Linked DNA regions of Homo sapiens: all the other regions are linked to region 2. The links are contacts of gene promoters, found by promoter capture Hi-C in human tissues and cell types (Jung and others, 2019). All regions are on one chromosome and are shown on one strand. The core of a region is centred on a gene start or on the middle of the fragment in contact, and the rest is flanking DNA. Distances in the headings are between cores, read along the strand shown. Region 1 holds the start of ARL2BP (ARF like GTPase 2 binding protein). Region 2 holds the start of KATNB1 (katanin regulatory subunit B1). Region 3 overlaps CFAP20 (cilia and flagella associated protein 20). Region 4 has its middle 29 kb from the start of CFAP20. Region 5 overlaps CIAPIN1 (cytokine induced apoptosis inhibitor 1). Region 6 overlaps COQ9 (coenzyme Q9).

Region 1 (3,341 bases), core at 453-2,952, 490 kb before region 2:
GATTGCAGTGAGCCGAGATTGCGCCACTGCACTCCAGCCTGGGCAACAGAGCAAGACTCCCTCTCAAAAAATAAATAGGCCGAGCGCAGTGGCTCACGCCTGTAATCCCAGCACTTTGGGAGGCCAAGGCGGGCGGATCACCTGAGGTCGGGAGTTCAAGACCAGCCTGACCAACATAGAGAAACCCCATCTCTACTAAAAACACAAAAAAATTAGGCATGGTGGCGCATGACTGTAATCCTAGCTACGCGGGAGGCTGAGGCAGGAGAATCGCTTGAAACCGGTAGGCGGAGGTTGTGTTGAGCCGAGATTGCACCATTGCACTCTAGCCCGGGCAGTAAGAGCGAAACTCCATCTCAATAAATAAATAAATTAGTAATAATTTATGTCACCTTGGTCACAGCTGTCACACCCGACTGTGTCTTTGTAACCATCTTTGTTTCAGATCCCACGGATATCTATTTTAAGTCCATTCAAAGATGTCTGCTAGGCCGGTTGTGGTGGCTCACACCTGTAATCCTAGCCCTTTTGGAGGCCAAGGTAGGTGGATCATCTGAGGTCAGGAGTTCGAGACCAGCCTGGCCAACATGGTGAAACCCTGTCTCTACTAAAAATTCAAAAATAGCCGGGCATAGTGGCACGTACTTGTAATCCTAGCTACTCGGGAGGCTGAGGCACGAGAATCGCTTGAACCTGGGAGGCGGAAGTTGTAGCCAGCCGAGATCGTGCCACTGCCCTCCAGCCTGGGCGACAGAGCAAGACTCCGTCTCAAAAAAATAAAAAATGTCTGCTAACCCATTCTGACTGGCCACCTGACCCTCAGTTCATACCTTAAACCCCTCTAGTTCCTCTAGTCATATACCACACTTTGGCCATAAGGTATCATGCAACTAAAGAGACACAATGCTTAGTTGTCCAATCAAGAGAAATCAGCTCAAACGAATCCTTTTTCAAAGTTTGGCAGTTTTGAAGAGGCCTTTTCCTGAAAGGTATCTGATTCCTGATTGCGTGGCTCAAAATAGTTCTTCAATTCTCATCTTGTATAATTAGTCAAGAAACCAATTACTGCCGAGTAATCTTTATGATGCGAAGATTATAACGTAAATTACAGGACATCGACTTCTTGCGATGGGGCTTTCCTTCCACGAGGGGTAGGAACTGTCTTGAAATCAGACGTCAGCATCACCTGGTTCAAGGGATAAGGGACTGGCTCTCCAGCGACTTGGCAACTTACAAGCGCTCTTTAAACACGCCTTAAACTACTTATTTAATCCTCCACACTCAGGGAGGCGCAATTTATTCTCGAGTTGCGAGTGAGGAAATTCTGGCTCGTGGCTTCGATTCCTTCATCCGTACAATGGGGGCGACTTGAGACGGAGTTCCCACACAACGGGTGCTCGCCGAAGCGCCGCATCCCTCCGCACTCCCTTCCGGGACTTCCTCTCCCTGTCTTGCCCCGCCCCGGCATCGGTAACGCTCGCCTGTGATTGGATGCCGGCCGGCCGTGAGGCGGTGGAAGGGGTTGCGGTGGCCATGGTGACAGGAGGCGGGGCGCCGCGCCCCTCCGGCAGTCACCGAGGCCCGGACCTGCGGCGTCGGCGGCGCGCGCAGAGGGCCAGGCGGGCGTAGAGGCCGGACCGACGCGTGGCGGCAGAGGGTATCCAAGGCCGGACCTGGCGCGCAGGCGCTGACCCGACCTGGCAGTGAGCTGGCCGCGGCCTTGGCTGAGAGGCCTTAACCCCGCCGGGCGGCCGCGCCCTGCATGCGAGTTGGGCCGCGGGCGGGGTTGGAGCCTACTCGGGGCGACTGCGATGGACGCCTTAGAAGGAGAGAGCTTTGCGCTGTCTTTGTGAGTAGCTCCTCCAGGGCGCAGGCGACTTGGGGCCGGAGGCAGCGGGCGTTCGCCCCGGGGCCTGACCCTATAAAACAGGTGTCCTTAGGGGCCGGGCCGGGCCGGGCCGGGCAGGGTGGGGGCCGCCAAGGCGCCGTCCCAGCTCCAGGCCTTCCTTTTGTAGAGTACTAAGGCTGCAGGTTTCAGGCCCCGCAGGACAGGAGTGCGAGGCGGGTGTCACCGTTGATCAGCGCCTCCATCACAATCCCCAGCCGCCAACCCTCAGCTGTCAGCAAAGCCTGGAGGGGTTGAGCGCCCGAGGCCCCTCCACCCCTCCCTGGCCCCCGCCTCCCGGACTCCTGACCAAATGACCCCCCCCGGCAGGTGTTTCGCCCGTGCCGGGTTCATGCTCACAAGCAGACAGGTATGGGGTGATAGCTAAGAGCCTGGAGAACAAGTTTTTATTAAAGTGGAGTCATGACATTGAACGTTCATGTCACAAACGTGCCGAGTGTGTTTTCTTCTGTTTGGACTTACTAGATCAGTCAGTCATTCTTAATCGTTGAAGATGGGTGATGGGAAGTTCGTTTTGCTACTCTTTTTTCTCTTGTGCATGTTTGAAAACGTCCATACTAAAAACATTTTTTTAATGCATTATTTGAAATAGCACCTAATCCAGGCATGTTTTTCAGCTCCTCCGCCTCTGATGCAGAATTTGATGCTGTGGTTGGATATTTAGAGGACATTATCATGGGTAAGCTTTTAAGATACTGTTTTTAAGGACTTGCTTGTTTCTTTAAGGACATTGAAATCAATTTGGAGAGTTAATTTTAAAAAGAGAAAACATCAAGCTGCCTGCAATTTTTAATGTAGCACAATGTAATACTTAAGTAAAGGCTTACTGCAGTTTGTCTTAGAAACAAACAGCCCAGTACTCCTGAAAACATCTAATAAGCATAGATTCAGAGGCTGGAAGGGACTGACTCAGGCTAATAGGGCACCAGCAGTGTGGCGTTCTTCGCAAAACTATAGGAAATAATGATCTACTCTATTTCTTATGTAGGGTAAGAGCAATTTCAATTTTAGATAGTTTTGAGTTTTAACATTTTCATGCCATAAAACACATAAAACCAGGCCAGGTGCGGTGGCTAACGCCTGTAATCCCAGCACTTTGGGAGGCCGAGGTGGGCGGATCACGAGGTCAGGAGATCAAGACCATCCTGGCTAACACGGTGAAACCCTGTCTCTACTAAAAATACAAAAAAAATTAGCCGGGCGTGGTAGCGGGCGCCTGTAGTCCCAGCTACTCAGGAGGCTGAGGCAGGAAAATGGCGTGAACCTGGGAGGTGGAGCTTGCAGTGATCCGAGATCGTGCCACTTCACTCCAGCCTGGGCGACAGAGCGAGACTCCGTCTGGAAAAAATAAAAATGAAAATAAACACATAAAACCATAACCATAAGCACACATGGCCATAAAGAAAACAAGGTATTAAGCTTCAGCTGGTTCTGT
Region 2 (3,344 bases), core at 215-2,714:
TTAAAGTTTTCTCTGTTTAGTTTTCTTTTTATAATACAAAATTAAGGGGAACTGCAGGCTAGACAGTTTTGATCCGATGTTATTCTGCTAATCTTTTAAAGGTGTCTTGCGGTGACTCACGCCTGTAATCCCAGCACTTCGGGAGGCTGGGGCGGGTGGATCACCTAAGGTCAGGAGTTCAAGACCAGCCTGGCCAAAATGGAGAAACCCCGTCTCTACTAAAAATATAAAAACTAGCCTTAGCCCGTCGTGGTGGCGGGCGCCTGTGGTTCCAGCTACCCAGGAGGCTGAAGCAGGAGAATCTGAAGCAGAAGGCTGAAGCAGAAGGCAGAGTGGGGACTCCCCCACGCTTTGGCTTTCAGAACAAGGGTTCGAATTCTGGGGCTATTACTTTCTGACCGTGTGGTTTTCTGCAAGCATCTTAACCCGGGCCTCAGTTTCCTCATCTGTAAATGGGAACAGGAATTCCTACCTCTTATGGTTGTACTGGGCGTTATGTGAGCCCAAGGAGCCCTGACCTGCGGTGAGAGGCTGGAGGCCGAAGGGCAAGGTTCGAGGGGCTCTGGGTGCCTGGGACAACCTCTGGGCAACAGGGAGAGGCGGCTGCGGGGCCAAGTCCCTCCTAAGCGGCCACGCGAGAGGCCCTGAGTCGAGAAGGGTTACGGCGCTTCCCAGAGCCCACCCCGCCCAACGTGTCACAAATAAAGCTGGCCTTTCTCCGATTCCCTGATTGCAGCCATTCAGGGAGCAGCCCCTTGCCCACGCATCCATTAGTCGAGGCGGTGGCTGCGTGTGCAGTGCTACAGGGTTCAGCGCCTGCCTCGGCTCCGGAATCAGGCTGTTTCCTTCTAGACCTCCCATGGGGGATTCAAGCCGGCGTCCGGGTCAAAGAACAGGGACAAAGTCCTCCTGCCACGGGGGACCATCTGCAGGCAAAGTGAAGAATGAGGAGCTTCGGCAAAATGCCGACTAAGGCCTCCTTAGGTTTTGCCCCACTCCAAGATGGAAGGCCTGAGGCTTCACACTGCCCCCGAAGTTCCTTTCCCATTGGCTATCTGGGAATTGAGTTTTCCAATAATGCGGACGCTGATTGGTCAATCCAGGACGGTTGCTCAAGCCATTGGCGCAGCCGCCATTGGAGGGCGGCTCTCAAAAGTTTTCAGACACAAATTAGGTTCGAGGGAGGAAACGGAGAGGAAAGGGAAAACTTGAGACGGAGGCGGGACTAAGGAAACGGCAGCTTGCATTGGTTTATTAGAGGCCAAGGGGCGGCTCTTGAACGTTCCTTCCTCTTGATTAGTCCTATTTAGGAAAAGAGGGCGGGTACTGAGGAAAAGCGGCAGAAGCGCCTGCTTCCATTGGTCAGTCCTGGCAGGAGGCGGAGCACCCGCGGCAGCTGATTGGTGCGGGAGGCAAGGTGGGCGGGGCTCTGAGCCGGAGGTTTTGTTGTGAGGGTCGGTTGTCAAGCAGCGGCCAATCAAGGCAGGGGATGGAGGCAAGTGGGGGTCGCGCCTGGAGCGGAGCCTCGGCCTCCGGAGCCGCAGCTGCAGGTGGAGTGGGCAAGGGGACGAGGTGGCGAGGGGACGGTGGGCCCTGGGCTGGGCCGAGCCAGGCGGGGCTGGCTGGGCTTGCGGGCAGAGAGCTCTGAGCGTGGGGAGGCTAGAGCCCGTACTCCGCAAGCAGAGGGTTGGGAGGATCAGCCGTGGCCGAGGGACCTGCCCCCGCCCCCGGACGAGAGGGGTCGGGGTGGAGGCCGGAGGGGGCAAAACCAGGGAGGCCGGAAGCAGAGCTGGGGGTCTGCAGAAGGACAGGTAATGAATAGGGAGAAGAGAAGTAGGAGAATGAATGAATGGGAGACCCCGCGAGCATATGGGAAAGGGCAGTAACGGGAGTCTGGCGAGGCAGGGGCCACGTGAGGGATATCGGGAGACAGGATGTGCATAAGTGGGAGACTCAGGGGGCAGGGAGAAAAGGGGGTGTGAACGGAGGACTAGAGAGGCAGACCCGGGGACCCAGGAGAAAGGGGACGGAGGGGAGCGGGCTCATGGGAAAGAGGTGAAGTGGCTGTGGGAAGGAGGTGGGAGGCTCCATGAGGAGGCCTTTTAGAGTTGAAGAGTCATAGCCACTTACGCCCAGACTGGAGGCCTAGTTCCTAGCTCTGTCCTTGGGAATCGCAGGGAGCAGGAGCGGTTCCCTTGCCAGGAGCTGGGGAATTGGACCATCAGGGTCGTCTTCGAGATTCTTTCCAAGGAGGACTTCAGTGGCCGTCTCTGGGATGCCTTTCCTAGGCCCCTAAGCTTAGCTTCTGACTCCGCTCTCCCACATCCCACACGTCAGACAAAAACAACGACTCGCAGGAAATCTATGTGAATTGCAGACACGTGGTCTTCTCCGCCCCACTGCGGCTGCTGCACTTTAGGCAGCCAGCATCCCGGAACAGAGCTGCAGCTCATTATCCTGGCCTCTGGGAGGAGTTTCTTTTTCCTTACGTTCCAAATCACCCTACCTGAGGTGCCCCCTCTGCAGATTCCCAAACCTAATTTGCAGTGCAGCTTCTGACTCTGGTGGCTTTGGTGGGTGTCAGTCTTTATCAAGTGGTCTTGGTGATCCAGGGAGCAACAGCTCTTACCAAGCATTTTCTAACATGACGTCACCTCTTGTTTGTATTGCAGCCCTGTATTGAGCTGAGATGGCTCGAGCCTAACATTCCATGATCCAGGATCGTGACAGATGTGCACAGGCTGCTGCTGTTGCTGCTGTGGGTAATTTGGAACCACGAGGCACCCCAGGGCCAGAAGACGAGGCATTCTGTCTGCCTGGATGTGTGGGAACTCTCTGCCAACTTGATTGGTGGATCTGGGGGGGGATCCACCCCCACCCCACGAGGAAAGCACAGTTTATTTTGTGGGTGGGGCTTCAGGTGCCAGCCAGCTGAAGGATGGCCACCCCTGTGGTCACCAAGACAGCCTGGAAGTTGCGTGAGTGGTTTTCATTTTTCTTTATCACCCCATTTATTCTGTTAGCGGCTTGTTGCTGGGAGGCCTGAACCCACAGCTTTGTTTCCTGTTCTTGGCACAGGAGGAGACTCCTAGACTTGGGAGTAAGATAGACCATTATGTAAATCATGACTGTGGCACTTCTTAGCTGGGTGACACTGGGCAGGTGACTTAACCTCTCTGAGGCTCAGTTTTCTTATATGTACAATGAGATGACGCCTGCATTCTATGGTTGCTGTGAAATTCAAGTGACAGGATGAACCCATCCTAAAGCACTTAGCACAGCATTTCCAGTTAGGCTGACAGTGGGGTGAGAAATCCTGAAAGATGTTCACAGCATTCTCAGAC
Region 3 (3,493 bases), core at 55-2,554, 380 kb after region 2:
AATACTAAAACAGAACAGCCACCCACTATTAAATAATCACTCCCCAAATGGATACCACGCTAACTCTGACACTTTGAAATTACTAGGTTTTCTAGGTGCTGTTTCTTTAAAAACCTGATTAAATTTTATTACTAATATCAAATTTACATAACAAGGACTGCACTGGGCTTATACTAGAAGCAGAAAAGAATACATGCAAAAGGATAAAGATACTTTGTAGGGTCACTTTTTCCCATCAGTTCAAAGGCTATCACTTTGGTATAGCCAAGAGTGGACACATTCATGTACACATACTTACCTGCACTTCGAAGGTAAAATACTTCTTCAGGTTTTTGATAATCATGACAAGGAAAGGAAGTTTAATTCCCAGCGTCTTCTTGGGGTCTGCAGGGCATGTGATATATGTGGTGCTGTAGAGAGAGGAAATACTAATAAACACACTCCTGGACTCTCTTCCTTTGTGGTATGCACAACAATAACACACGGTCCAAGAGGATACACTGGAAAGCAGATCTAAAAGATTCAGACACGCCACCCAGTGAATCCCTCAGCCCTAAGTCAGCGGCTGCTTTAACAAACGCTGGACCCAGAAACAAAAGCTTAACACAGGACTAGACAGCAGCAATAAAATATCTGAAAAACAAAGCCAGACAGTGGATCTTAGAAGCTCCTCCAGTGAGAGAAGACCTCAATTCTGGTCCAGGGGAGCCATCGAATGACAGAAAACCAAAACTGAGACCTCTATGGCACTGAAAACCACACTGTCCACCCACTGGATGAGCTGTACAACACTGCCCACTCCCCACCCCAACACACACTTTGGTTAATAATATAGCTAATACTGACATCGTGCTTACTATGTGCTAAGCAAGGCTTTACGTGTTTTATATATATTCATTTATTTACTCCTCGCAATAACCCTATAAGGAAAATGTACTATTATTCTGCCCATTGTACAGATGAGTATGCTAAGGTCTGGGGGATTCAGTAACTTGCCCATGGTAAGCTCTAAGTGGCAGAGATAGACTCACATCCGGCACTCTGACTCCGCAGTCTGTGCTATTAACCTCTATGACGTACTGCCTCCCTAGTATATGATGTCTCTGGGAGAACAGAGGTGGCAACCTACCTTACATTTGTCCCTTCAATCTCTAGCACCAGGGACTGGATGTCATTATCAGTGATTCTTTTGATGTGGCCATTCCGTACCTACAAGAAAGAAAATTCGATTAGTACTGAAATATCTGACAAGGCTGAATAGGACTATTTAAAGAAAACCACGGTAGCCCAAGAGGCGTACAAAGAAATTTGTGACACAGCACACTGAAGCTTATATGTAAGTAAGCCAAGCTATTACCTCTAGACAGGGTCACACCAACCACCAAGGGAATCCCAGGTAACTTGGCAATCCCTAAATCTGGGGAAACTTCTCCCCAAATACATCAACTCAATTTAGATTCAGCTAATATCTACTGAATGCCTACTATGCACCAGGAATATCACACACATCCCCTTCTCACTTAAGCCTCACACAATAAAAACAACAAGGCAGGTGATACTGTTTTCATTTTACAAATGTGGACATTGGCACCCCGGAACTGCAAATGCCAAACCCTAAGTAGGAGACTAAGGATTCAGCAGCCTTTCCACTGCCTCATACTGCCTCGTAGATTTCTTTCTTTCTCTTTCTTTTTTCTTTTTTCTGAGACGGAGTCTCGCCCTGTCGCCCAGGCTGGAGTGCAATGGCGCGATCTTGGCTCACCGCAACCTCTGCCTTCCAGGTTCAAGCGATTCTCTTGCCTCAGCCTCCTGAGTAGCTGGGATTATAAGCGTGCAGCACCATGCCCAGCCGATTTTTTTTTTTGTATCTTTAGTAGAGACGGGGTTTCACCATGTTGGCCAGGCTGGTCTCGAACTCCTGACCTTGTGATCCACCTGCCTTGGCCTCCCAAAGTGCTGGAATTACAGGCATGGGCCACTGCGCCCGTCCTGCCTTGTATATTTCTTTGGCCAGAAAAGCCAAAGAAAAGCTGAGTGTTACTGAGGAGGGCAGCAACAAAAAGTGAAAGCATTCCTCCCCTGGAGTTATCCTGCTTCATGCTTCCCTATCTGCTTTTGCCTAATTTTCTACTTTTTAAAGCAGGAATTCAATTCCCATCTGTGCCACACACAGATGCCTTCTTTAGCATTTTCAGCCCACACTGACCTCTCTTTTCTCTGATTTGTTTTTCTGGCTCATGTTGTCTAGACGACATAATTTAGCACCTCATCCTACATTGTTTTGTATTGTTTGCTGCATATGTAGGAGGTAGATGATGGGGAGGAATCAATATTCAATACAGATTCCTCCTCTCAAAATATTTAGGAAAGAACAATTATCTTCAAGCATTAAACTTTTAAGCAACTAATATGGACAGAACAGAGATATGCAAAGGCACTTTCAAAACAGGGCTGGGGCCAGGCACAGTGGCTCATGCCTGTAATCCCAGCACTTTGGGAGGCCAAGGCAGGAGGATAGCTTGAGCTCAGGAGTTCAAGATCAGCTTGGGCAACATAGTAAGACATTGTTTCTACAAAAAATTAGCCAGGTGTGGTGGCGTGCACCTGTAGTGTGCCTATAGTCCCAACTACTTGGGAGGCTAAGGTGGGAGGATCACTTGAGCTCAGGAGGTCCAGGCTGCAGTGAGCTGTGTTTGTGCCACTGCACTCCAGCCTAGAGGAGTAGGTGACAGAGCAAGACCCTATCTCAAAAAAAACAAAACAAAAAACGAAAAAAAAAAAACAAAACCAAAAAAACATGGCTGGGGTCAGGCATGGTGGTTCACGCTTGTAATCCCAGCACTTTGGGAGGCCGAGGCGAGAGAACTGCTTGAGCTCAGGAGTTCAAGACCAGTCTGGACAACATGATGAAACCCCATCTCTACAAAAAATTAGCCAGGTGTAGTGGCACGTGCCTATCGTCTCAGTTCCTCAGGAGGCTGAGGTGGGAGGATAACCTGAGCCTGGGAGGTCGAGGCTGCAGTGAGCCGTGATTGTGCCACTGTACTCAAGCCTGGGCGACAGAGTGAGATCCTGTCTCAAAAATGAACAAACAAACAAAAAAACAAGGCTGGACTATTAGGGCTGAATGGAATAACATATGAAAAAGATCAACTAGGTTTAGAACAGGAGACATCAGAAAGACAAACATACGGTCTTTCTTTGTGGAAAGGGCTGTGTTAGGCTGCCATAATCAATGACTCAATCACACTGACTAAAGCTCCTCTTGTTCACTCATCAGCCTGCTGATTACGATTTGGCTATTAGACTTGCATATGGGGATAAATCAGTGTTGGGTCTGGTAGTTTTATTTTTCAACATAAATTATTAATAATATGTTTCTGTTTTTAGACATTAGTCTCTGTGAGCTCTGTCACTGTGAGTCTGATCCACTCATGGTCTGCCTGGTGTTCTAAAGGTGACATCTGATGTCACTGCCCACCTTTTCCACAAC
Region 4 (3,480 bases), core at 490-2,989, 360 kb after region 2:
GGGGCTCCAGGATGAGAGCAGGTGCAACTCCCTCCTCTCCCACTCCCTCCTCTGGCCACTCCAGGTGCTGGGGAGCTGGAAGGGAGACTGAGAGGGGCAGGAGCTGCCACTCTCGCCCTGTGTGTGGCCTCCCCTTGGACAGGCCTACTCCACCCTCTGCTCGTCAGACTCTTTCTCACTTCTGCTCCAGAGCCCCCGCGGCTCTCCTCTTCTTCATCTCTGTTTTCCTCTTCAAATTCCAGAGAGAGGAATCCAACAGCCGTGGCCTGGCACTGGCCAGCCCAGGAGATCATCATGCAATCGTCTTCAGCCAGCAGCCCAGGGCAGGTCCACACCCCAGGGTGATTCACTCAGAAATCCACTCATTCTTTCATCCCTGTGCCAGGCACTGTCCTGGGGGCAGGGGATCCAGCAGGGAAGAAACAGATGCGGCCCTGCCCTCCCGGGGCAGACAGTCCATGGAGACTCTTCTCTCCTCCCCACGTTTCTAGGAGCCTCAGTCTTCCCACCTGGTGAAGATTTCTTCATTTCTCCTCTCCTCGCCATAAAACCCTTCTATGCAGCTGAGACACAGTTGGGGGCCCAAGAAGGAGGCCAACCACAAGGACCACATGAGGACCCTAAGACAATGACAACTACAGTTACCATGACAACACTCACTGTGGACTGACTCCTGCCTCAAGGCTGTTCCATCTGCTATCAGTGAATCCCCGCCATGCCCTAGGAAGGTGCACGTGGCTGTTATTCCCATTTCTGTGAAACAGGAAAGCACAGTGAGGTTCATGTCACATCCTCAGGTCTCAGAGCTCAGGTTGGTAAGCACTGGAGCCAGGTTTATTCCAAGTCATCACGCCCTGAAGGGAAGGGCTGAGCCACTGAGCCACTTGGTTTTTCCCACTCAGAAGGGCACATCCATTGGTTCATTGCCCTGCAATGATCCTGCGCCATCAGAGGTGTAAGGCCTCCACTAAGCCTGCCTTCTGGATGGAAGAAGGTGTTGGGCAGGGCCTGCCTGGAAGAGGGGGACAATCACCACCCTTGCCTAGCCAGCCCCTTACGAGGAGAGACACTACCCTCCCCCAGCAGCCCAGCCTCAGTCTCAGGGACCTCTTTTCCTTCTCCACTGTTGCCAGTGGCACAGGGGCCAGTGCGGGGAGCTGTGCCCACTTTACCATCCCATGCTCAGGACACCAGATCTATTTCCGACATTTCACACCTCTGGCCTCTGGCCTCCCTGGCCCGTCTCTATCCTCTGCAGCCCCCATTGCAGCCAGGGTGGCCTCCTGCTCCCCAGCAACCCCTGTGGCCATGTGGGCTGCCCTCGTCAGGCTCACCCCACTGCTGGGCCCGACAAGGCCATCCATGTGTCCCAGTTGGAAGCTAGTGATCAACTCAAAATAACTACTCCCCTCCACTCTGACACAACTGTCTTCCCCAGAAGGACAACAGCTGCAAGGGATTAGAGCTGGGGATGGAAGGAGAGAACCCCCCACCCACAGCCCCAAGCCCACGGAGCTGGAGCAGGTGGCAGCGACGTGGGGTGAGGAGCCTGTGTCTAGGGCTGCCCTGTCTTCTGGAAAAAGTTCCTCTCCCCCTGGAGCTGGAGAAGGTGAAAGAGGGGATCTGGAGGGTGCAGCCTCCCCTACCCTAGCACCCCAGCCTGGCCCACGTGTGGCTGGAACCCGCCTGCCTCCAAGCCTGGGGCTGCAGCCTGGAAATCGATGGGAGGGAACCACGTGCTCCTGCTTACCCAAAAGCTGGCTGTCCCGAGCCTGGGCCTCTTGATTCGCTCCACTTGGTTCTCCTTCCCCCCACAGCCTGGTGCCACACCTCCTAGTCCTTCCTCCACAAAGCCTTCCTCCACACCACCACCCAAAGTCCAGAATCACACAGTTCACCCACCCCCACACTCTCTCTAACTGTATTTCTAGAGGGGAACACTTCCCTGGGTGAGGATGACACCCCTGTCCCTTTCCTGGGAAAGCTTGATCACTTTCTCCCTCCGGGTCACAAGGGTTTTCAGGGCCACATTTTCAGGCCACCTCCCGAGCACATATGAAGAGAGGTGGCATCAAAACAGACCTCCACCTGGCAGGTAGTCCTTGACCTTCCTGCCTTTACTGAGCCTTTTTCCTCCCCCTCATCCTTCTAGCTTTAAGAAAACATCGGCTGGGCGACGTGTCTCCTGCCTATAATCAAAGCCCTTTAGGAGGGTGAGGTGGGAGGGTTGCTTGAGGCCAGGAGTTCAAGACAAACCTGGTCAACAGAGCAAGACCTCATCTCTACAAAAAAAAATTTAAAAAACTTGGCCGAGTATGGTGGTGCATGCCTGTAGTCCCAGCTACTCAGGAAGTTGAGGTGGGAGGATCGCTTGAGCCTAGGAGGTTGAGGCTGCAGTGAGCTGTGATCGTGCCACTGCACTCTAGCCTGGGTGACAGAGCAAGACCCTGTCTCTAAAAAAGGAAAACTTCACATTATATGCACTTTTGGTAAACCTCATATCCTTTTAGGAACTGAAATGAGATACACATTAATAAATGAATAAATATTACCTGCTTTCTCCAGACTGTCCTTTAATGCATCTTTTCCTCTCCTTGCTCAAGGACACTTGGGGTCTGAGGAGAAGGGGCAGGTACTGAGACGAGGGGACTGGGTGCTCCTCTAGGACCTGAGCCACTCAGGTTTTTGTAATCAGCTGCTCTCTGAGGAAGCACCTGAAACTTCATGGCTTGAAACCACCACCATCGTATTTGCTCCCAATTCTTCCCTTTTTTTTGAAACAGAGTTTCACTCTTGTTGCCCAGGCTGGAGTGCAGTGGCACAATCTCGGCTCACTGCAATCTCCGCCTCCGAGATTCAAGCAATTGTCCTGTCTCAGCCTCCCAAGTAGCTGGGATTACAGGCGCATGCCACCATGCCCAGCTAATTTTTGTATTTTTAGTAGAGACAGGGTTTCATCATGTTGGCGCTGGTCTCAATCTCCTGACCTCAGGTGATCTGCCCACCTCGGCCTCCCCAAAGTGCTGGGATTACAGGTGTGAGCCACAACACCTGGCCTTGTTTTTTTTTTTTTTTTTGTTGTTGTTGTTGTTTTATTTTTTTGAGACGGAGTCTCACTCTGTCACCCAGGCTGGAGTGCAGTGGTGCAATCTCGGCTCACTGTAAACCTCTGCCACCCAGGTTCAAGTGATTCTCCTGCCTCAGCCTCCTGAGTAGCTGGGATTACAGACGTGCACCACCACGCCCAGCTAATTTTTGTATATATATATTTATTAATAGTGATGAAGTTTTATCATGTTGGCCAGGCTGGTCTCAAACTCCTGATCTCAAGTGATCCACCCGCCTCGGCCTCCCAAAGTGCTGGGATTACAGTCGTGAGCCACCATGCCCAGTTCCCTTTTGGCTGAACTCTCTGGGCAGTCCTTCTGCTGGGCTGGCTGATGACCACCCGTGTACCTGTGTTCACAGATAGCTGAAGCC
Region 5 (3,040 bases), core at 308-2,807, 300 kb before region 2:
GGGAGGCTGAAACATGAGAATCGCTTGAACCCGGGAGCAGAGATTGCAGTAAGCCGAGATTGTGCCATTGCACTCCAGCTTGGGCAAGAGAGCGAGACTGTCTCCAAAAAAAAAGCCACCAACATGGAGTTTCCTTCTAAATCAAAGATGTGACAGGCATAGTCACAAATCTGGGCTTTAAATACGTTCACACCTACAAGTCCAGAAAGGTCACTATAGCTGTTCACACCCAAACTGGGGCCTGAAAGAAAGCAATCAAGTGACAATGCTGCCAGCTCACCATGCTGTCGTCCTCCATATCGTTGGCTGAGAGGGTCCACAGCTTGGCAGCAGCAGGGTCCACAGCAGGTTTCACTGAGTCCAAGCAATAAAAGAAAAAACTCCATAAACACAGTCAGAAACTATTAATTACAAACATACATAAATGCTTCCTGCTGTGTAGAAGAGAACACACTGGCCTGGGAGGCAGAAGATGTGGGTTCACAGTCCAGCTCTACCCCTCTGAGAGGTCTGACCTTGGGCCAACCACTTGCTGATAGTTACAGAAGTCACCATTTGCTAAGCTCTTGCTTTGCACCAGGCACCATATTAAGCACTTATATACATTATCTAACTTAATTCTGCTGACAACCTTATGAGGTAACTATCTGTCATCCTACTTTTACCGCTGAGGAAACAGGTTTAGACACTTAGGCTGGTTCCACAGGCTGCAAAGCCTGTCTGATGCTTTTAACCTCCATTCCATATTGCTTCCTCCTCGATACCTTAGTTTCCATTCTATAACATGAAGTTAAATTGTACTTCCTATGTTACTGCAGGTGTTTTGAGGATTAAATGAGAAATGTGTCAAAACCTTCAAAAATAGCAGAGCTTTAGCCTCATGTAAACCTGCTACATACAAGAAAATAGGCTCTAGAGCTGCTGGTGGCAAGGTAACACCATCAGTGGCAGACAAACCTCACACTTCCTGGTTCTCTGTCTAGTCAGGAGAATGCAAGGAAGAGGCAGAGAGCTGAGGCTCGGATGCAGTGTGGGCAAATCCTCGCAGGCCCTTGGGGTAAGAGTACCCTCTAGTGATCATTGTCACAGCTGGATGCTCATACCTTCCACAAGGCCAACTGTTCTAAGCTATTCCTACCCATTCTGGAACCATGAATCGAAAGGTTAGATTCCAAAGGATTTCTTGAAGATTTAGGTTAGACAGTCAAAACCGTACAAGTGGGAATGTACCAGTAAATATCTGTTAATGTCTGCATACCTCACAGCTGGGTCAATTCAGGCATTTAAAAATAGGGATAGGAAGGATGAGGATGGAGCTGTGTGTGTGTGTGTGTGTGCGTGCGCGTGCGTGCACGCGTGTGCTTGTACACAATTTTCTAGTCAGAAGAAATATAGTTTTATAAGTGTCTTAGCATCCTCAAAGTAAGAACAGCTGATTTTCCTGGCATGGGGAAAAAAGCACATGAGAACAGGAACAGGGCACTCTCATACACCATTACCACTACACTGTGAGGTCTTCTGAGGAGAAACGTTAATTCTGGGACCTGGAAGGACCTCATTAATTAAACTGTGTGACTCAGTCCTGTAAAATTAGGAGGCCTCGGTATCTTCTGGTGCAGAAGAAGGAGCTGAACTAGATAATACCTATGTATTATTTCAGTTTTGGATCCTAATATGCCCATGATAATAGTACATTAAGTATTCTTCTTTGTGGAAATGGCAGAAATCAAAGGACTAATCCTCTAAAAATATCACCATCTCATTTATTGCTGGCTCAATTTCTAACATGTCCCTCTAAGCCCATTCAAACAGAAGAATGTCCCTAGGCCAGCCTTACCTGAAGGAGAAGACTTCTTGGTGATGGAAAGCTTAAGCTGCCTAGAAGAACCCACTTCAAAGTTTGGTTTTTTGCCTGTGATCTGAACAAACAGCAGGTTGTCACTTTCATGACCAAGGTGTTCTCGAACAGACTGTACTTCCTCAGGGGTTAGGGGCTCCCGCTGCAGCTAGAATTCAAGACATCAAAAGGATTAGTTCACCCTCCTCTGTAAAATGGTTTACTATGTCTACCTACACAGGAGTCAAAGACTCATTTCTGTGCATTAAGGATGTAACAGTGGATGGTAACAGATAACACTTTATGCCTCACATTCAGTTTCTCACTGATCAGAACCCTAGAGTATAACCTTTGTCTGCATGTTTACTTGGAGCCTACCCCTTGGAAAATGTAAAAGTACTTAAAAAACATTAGGGATGAGGCATATACTAGTTATTTGGGATGTAATACAATTATGAAAATGAACCAGATGTGGTCCTACTGTGTAACAGGAAAGAATGCCCACAATGAAGACAGCAGAAATTTATATCCCAAAAGAAAAAGGGGGAGGAAAATCCTTTCTATGTTCCTTGGGATAAAGTAGCAGAGAGTAAAGGTAGAAAAAAAGGGTCAGGGTGCCACCTCTATGTCCAATAATTATAGACTGGTTACATAAATCACAGTCCATCTATTGTATGGAATACTATTACATCATTAATATGAATGAAGGGAAATACACTGAAGTAGGTAAGTGTCTATGATATCTAAGGGTGGGAAAAAAGGTGATTGAACAATGTATACTTATGATCTTATTTACATTTTTAAAAAAGTATGTGCATGTAGATGCTTGTAAATACATAGGAAAAGGTCTGAACGGACATACAAAAAGGCATTGGTGGCTTCCTCTGGGGAGGGAAGTGTGAGCAAGAAGTGGGATGTCACTTTATATTCTGTATGCTTTGGTGTAAAGTGAATTTTTATGAGGAGTCTGATATAGTTTGGATATGTGTCCCCTCTAAATCTCATGTTGAACTGTAATCCCCAATGTTGGAGGTGGGGCCTGGTGAGAGGTGACTGGATCATGGGGGCAGATTTCTCATGAATGGTTTAGCACCATCTGAATTCTCATGAGATGTGGTGGTTGTAAAGTATGGCACCTTCCCCACCCCGACTCTTCCTCTCTTTCTTGATCCTGCTTTTGCCATGTGATGTGCCTGCTCCTGC
Region 6 (2,904 bases), core at 1-2,500, 280 kb before region 2:
AAGATTGACTGGTTTTTTTCCCCCAATAGGGTGGAACTGGCTTTATTTTGTAGTTATAAAGAACATACCATGGAGTTGGTTCTTGGGAGTTGTGTTCTAAAGGCAATCTATTAGGCAAGAATTGTCTGTGATCAAAACTCCCATGTTTCATTGACTCTAAGATGCCATTGGTTGTAAGAAGCATCATTTTTAAATGCATCAGTAAAAAAGAAAACATACTGCCCTTCGAACTATGACAAAGCACTTCTGTGATTCACACTGATTTTTTAAAATGAAAAATATATCTGCATCTTAGAATTAATGACATATGGTGTTTGAAAACCCCCAAGAAGGCACCACTTTGGAGACCAACACATCTTATTTTCCCAGAAACTCTAATAGCATTTTCTGCATTAGTACAGACTGCTGCTTTAGATTAGGCAGCAGGCTCATGTTCAGGCCATGTTGTAGAGAATCCTCCAGCATAGCAAGATACCATCCTCCAAGAGACTGAGGGGATGACAGAGTTGCATCTTCCATCCCAGGCTTGCTGCAGGGCATCTACCCATGGACAATGGGCAAGGTTGCTGCTTTACTGAAATTTAACTGTTATTTCCTTGTCTTCTCTCACTCCCAAGTGCACATTTGGTAACAGAAGTCTCATTAGTGAAATGTGGGTGCTCTGACTCCACTGTAGGCTCATTGTGAAAACTGAACAATACAAACAAATATAAAAAAGAATGTAGAAAACACCTATAATCACACCAAAGATCATACTATCAACATTTATGCCTAGATCTTTCCAATTAAAACCCTTTATATGATTCATTCTTTAAATGTTTATTGAGCAAATAATGTGCCCTAGGCACTGTGCTAGTCCAAGAGACATGACAGGGGTCAAAGTGGTCAAGATGGATCTGCTTCCTGCCCTTGTTGAGCTTCCAGTCTAGCAACATTAATAAAATATATACAAATGTTTACTTAGAAGATGTGGTAAGTGCTATCAAGGAAAGGTGCTGTTGGGCTGTATAATGGAGGGACCCGATCATTAGATCAGGTCACAGCTGCGAGATTGACTGGTTTTTTTCCCTCAATAGGGTGGAAATGGCTTTATTTTGTAGATATAAAAGTAATGAACCATGGAATTGGTTCTTGAGAGTTGTGTTCTAAAGGCAACCTATTGGCAAGAATTGTCTGTGATCAAAACTACCATATTTCATTGACTCTAAGATGCCATTGGTTGTAAGAAGCACCATTTTTAAGTACATCAGTAAAAAAAGAAAACATGTTGCCTGTTAAACTATGACAAATAGTCTAATTTGTCCTATTAAAGGGTTGGAGGGCTGGGCACAGTCGCGCATGCCTATAATCCCAGCACTTTGGGAGGCCAAGGCAGAGGGATTGCTTGAGCCCAGCAGTTTGGGACCAGTCTGGGCAACCTAGGGAGAGACCCCATCTCTACAAAAAATACAAAAATTAGCCAGGCATGGTGGTGCTTGCCTGTGGTCCCAGCTACCTGGGAGGCTGGGGTGGGAGGATCTCTTGAGCCTGGTAGGTCAAGGCTGCAGTGAGCCATAATGATGCCATTGCACTCCAGCCTGGGCAACAGAGTGAGACCTTGTCTGAAACCATATATGAGGTGGGTAACAGGGTGGTCAGGAAAGGCTTTTGAGCTGAGAATTGAAGAATGAATAGGCTTTACCTGACTTTGTGGGTAGGAGATGGACAAGTCCAAATACAGAAACTGCACAGGCAAGGTGGAAAGAAAAAGAAGGATGGTACGTTAGAAGAACCACAGAGAACCACCATGCAGAGAGTGCAGGAAGAGAGATTTGAGATGAGCAAGGCTGGAAAGGTCAGTCGAGGTCAAATCAGGCAAGGTCCTAAAGGTCATGATGAGGAGTCAAGCTTTTCTTCTAAGAACAATTGAAGATATTGGATTAAATTTGGCATTTCAAAATGCTCATTTTGGCTGCCAGATGAAAAGTGGATTGGAGGCAGAGAGAGACTCATTGGGGGCTGCTGCCAGACATACAGGAGAGATGAGGTGGTCTGGCTTAGAGTAATGGCAGTGGGTAAGTTCAGGAATAGCTTGGACATGGGAGAGAGTGACAGGATGGCACCAGAGTTGCAAGTTTGCATGTGTGGGTACCCAATGGTGGTGTTTTCTAAGGTGAAGGCCATTGGAAGAGGACCAGCTTTGGGGAAGGGTACAGTCTTGATCCTTGTTGAGTATGAGGAGTTTTTGAGTCAACCAGTGGAGGCATCAAGCATACAGGTCAGGAACTGGAGGAAACAGCTGGACTAGAGATACACATTTGGGCATATATATATATATATACAGTATATATATGCACGCTGATTTTATATATATATATATATATAAAATAATTATGGAAGTCAGTGAGATTGTCCAGGGCAAGAATATAATGTCATATGAGAGGGGAGTCCAGACTCTCAAGGAACGCGGACATTTAAGGGGAGAGTAGAATAGGATGGGCCGTCAAAGTCTAAGTCAGAGCATCCTGATGTTGGAGGCAAAGCAGGAGAGTGTGGATTAAGCAGCTAGACATTGGTTACTGGGGCAACAACCGTTTGGGTGGAGAACTGGATCAGAAATCAACTGGAGTGGATCGAGGTGTGCATAGAAGGCGAGGAAGTGGCGAGGCGTTTGGCTGCGAGGGGTAGAACTAGGGTGCACCAAGCAGGAGAAACAGATGGAAGTTTGGACATGATTGAACACAAATGGGAAGAGTACAGAAACAAGAGTGGACCAGGCTCATATGTGTAATCCCAGCACTTGGGGAGGCTGAGGCGGGAGGATTGCTTGACACTAGGAGTTTGAGGCCAACCTGGGCAATATGGCGAGACCCCATCTCTACAAAAACATTTAAAAATTAGCCAGATGCGGTGGCGCATACCTGT

The links. The method cuts DNA at HindIII sites, captures the fragments that hold promoters and counts their contacts. A contact is called where the count stands out against the background at its distance.
Region 1: a contact is called between the fragment with the promoter of ARL2BP here and the fragment with the promoter of KATNB1 in region 2, in 1 of the 25 tissues and cell types used here (hippocampus).
Region 3: a contact is called between a fragment that was not itself captured here and the fragment with the promoter of KATNB1 in region 2, in 3 of the 25 tissues and cell types used here (dorsolateral prefrontal cortex, mesenchymal stem cells and mesendoderm cells).
Region 4: a fragment that was not itself captured here is called in contact with the fragment with the promoter of KATNB1 in region 2 in 1 of the 25 tissues and cell types used here (lymphoblastoid cells).
Region 5: a contact is called between a fragment that was not itself captured here and the fragment with the promoter of KATNB1 in region 2, in 1 of the 25 tissues and cell types used here (heart left ventricle).
Region 6: a fragment that was not itself captured here is called in contact with the fragment with the promoter of KATNB1 in region 2 in 5 of the 25 tissues and cell types used here (adrenal gland, dorsolateral prefrontal cortex, hippocampus and 2 more).

The regions. Positions count from the first base shown.
Region 1 is chr16:57,243,557-57,246,897 of GRCh38, forward strand. ARL2BP (ARF like GTPase 2 binding protein) reads left to right here and starts at 1,703. Exons shown (of 6, transcript NM_012106.4): 1 at 1,703-1,849; 2 at 2,524-2,585. The coding sequence starts at 1,812. It overlaps LOC124903697 (a long non-coding RNA gene), which reads right to left. Exons shown (of 2, transcript XR_007065082.1): 2 at 2,259-3,341. RefSeq lists silencers at 1,422-1,801, 1,892-2,101. The HindIII fragment of the contact is 10,161 bases long and covers 1-2,957 here.
Region 2 is chr16:57,734,306-57,737,649 of GRCh38, forward strand. KATNB1 (katanin regulatory subunit B1) reads left to right here and starts at 1,465. Exons shown (of 20, transcript NM_005886.3): 1 at 1,465-1,550; 2 at 2,673-2,978. The coding sequence starts at 2,939. It overlaps LOC107984852 (a long non-coding RNA gene), which reads right to left and starts at 2,339. Exons shown (of 2, transcript XR_001752221.3): 1 at 2,131-2,339; 2 at 1-1,302. RefSeq lists enhancers at 1-293, 923-1,032, 1,012-1,306, 1,053-1,222, 2,591-2,660 and a silencer at 1,533-1,772. The HindIII fragment of the contact is 17,781 bases long and covers 1-3,344 here.
Region 3 is chr16:58,115,743-58,119,235 of GRCh38, forward strand. It overlaps CFAP20 (cilia and flagella associated protein 20), which reads right to left. Exons shown (of 6, transcript NM_013242.3): 2 at 1,130-1,209; 3 at 299-410. Among named protein-coding and RNA genes, the nearest start is that of CFAP20, 12 kb to the right of the region's middle. The HindIII fragment of the contact is 4,657 bases long and covers 1-3,493 here.
Region 4 is chr16:58,098,370-58,101,849 of GRCh38, forward strand. No RefSeq gene overlaps it. Among named protein-coding and RNA genes, the nearest start is that of CFAP20, 29 kb to the right of the region's middle. RefSeq lists enhancers at 1-137, 138-638. The HindIII fragment of the contact is 6,305 bases long and covers 1-3,480 here.
Region 5 is chr16:57,432,207-57,435,246 of GRCh38, forward strand. It overlaps CIAPIN1 (cytokine induced apoptosis inhibitor 1), which reads right to left. Exons shown (of 9, transcript NM_020313.4): 5 at 1,838-2,006; 6 at 281-354. Among named protein-coding and RNA genes, the nearest start is that of CIAPIN1, 14 kb to the right of the region's middle. The HindIII fragment of the contact is 7,381 bases long and covers 1-3,040 here.
Region 6 is chr16:57,453,054-57,455,957 of GRCh38, forward strand. The region is part of intron 3 of COQ9 (coenzyme Q9); the gene reads left to right. Among named protein-coding and RNA genes, the nearest start is that of COQ9, 7.0 kb to the left of the region's middle. The HindIII fragment of the contact is 7,285 bases long and covers 1-2,904 here.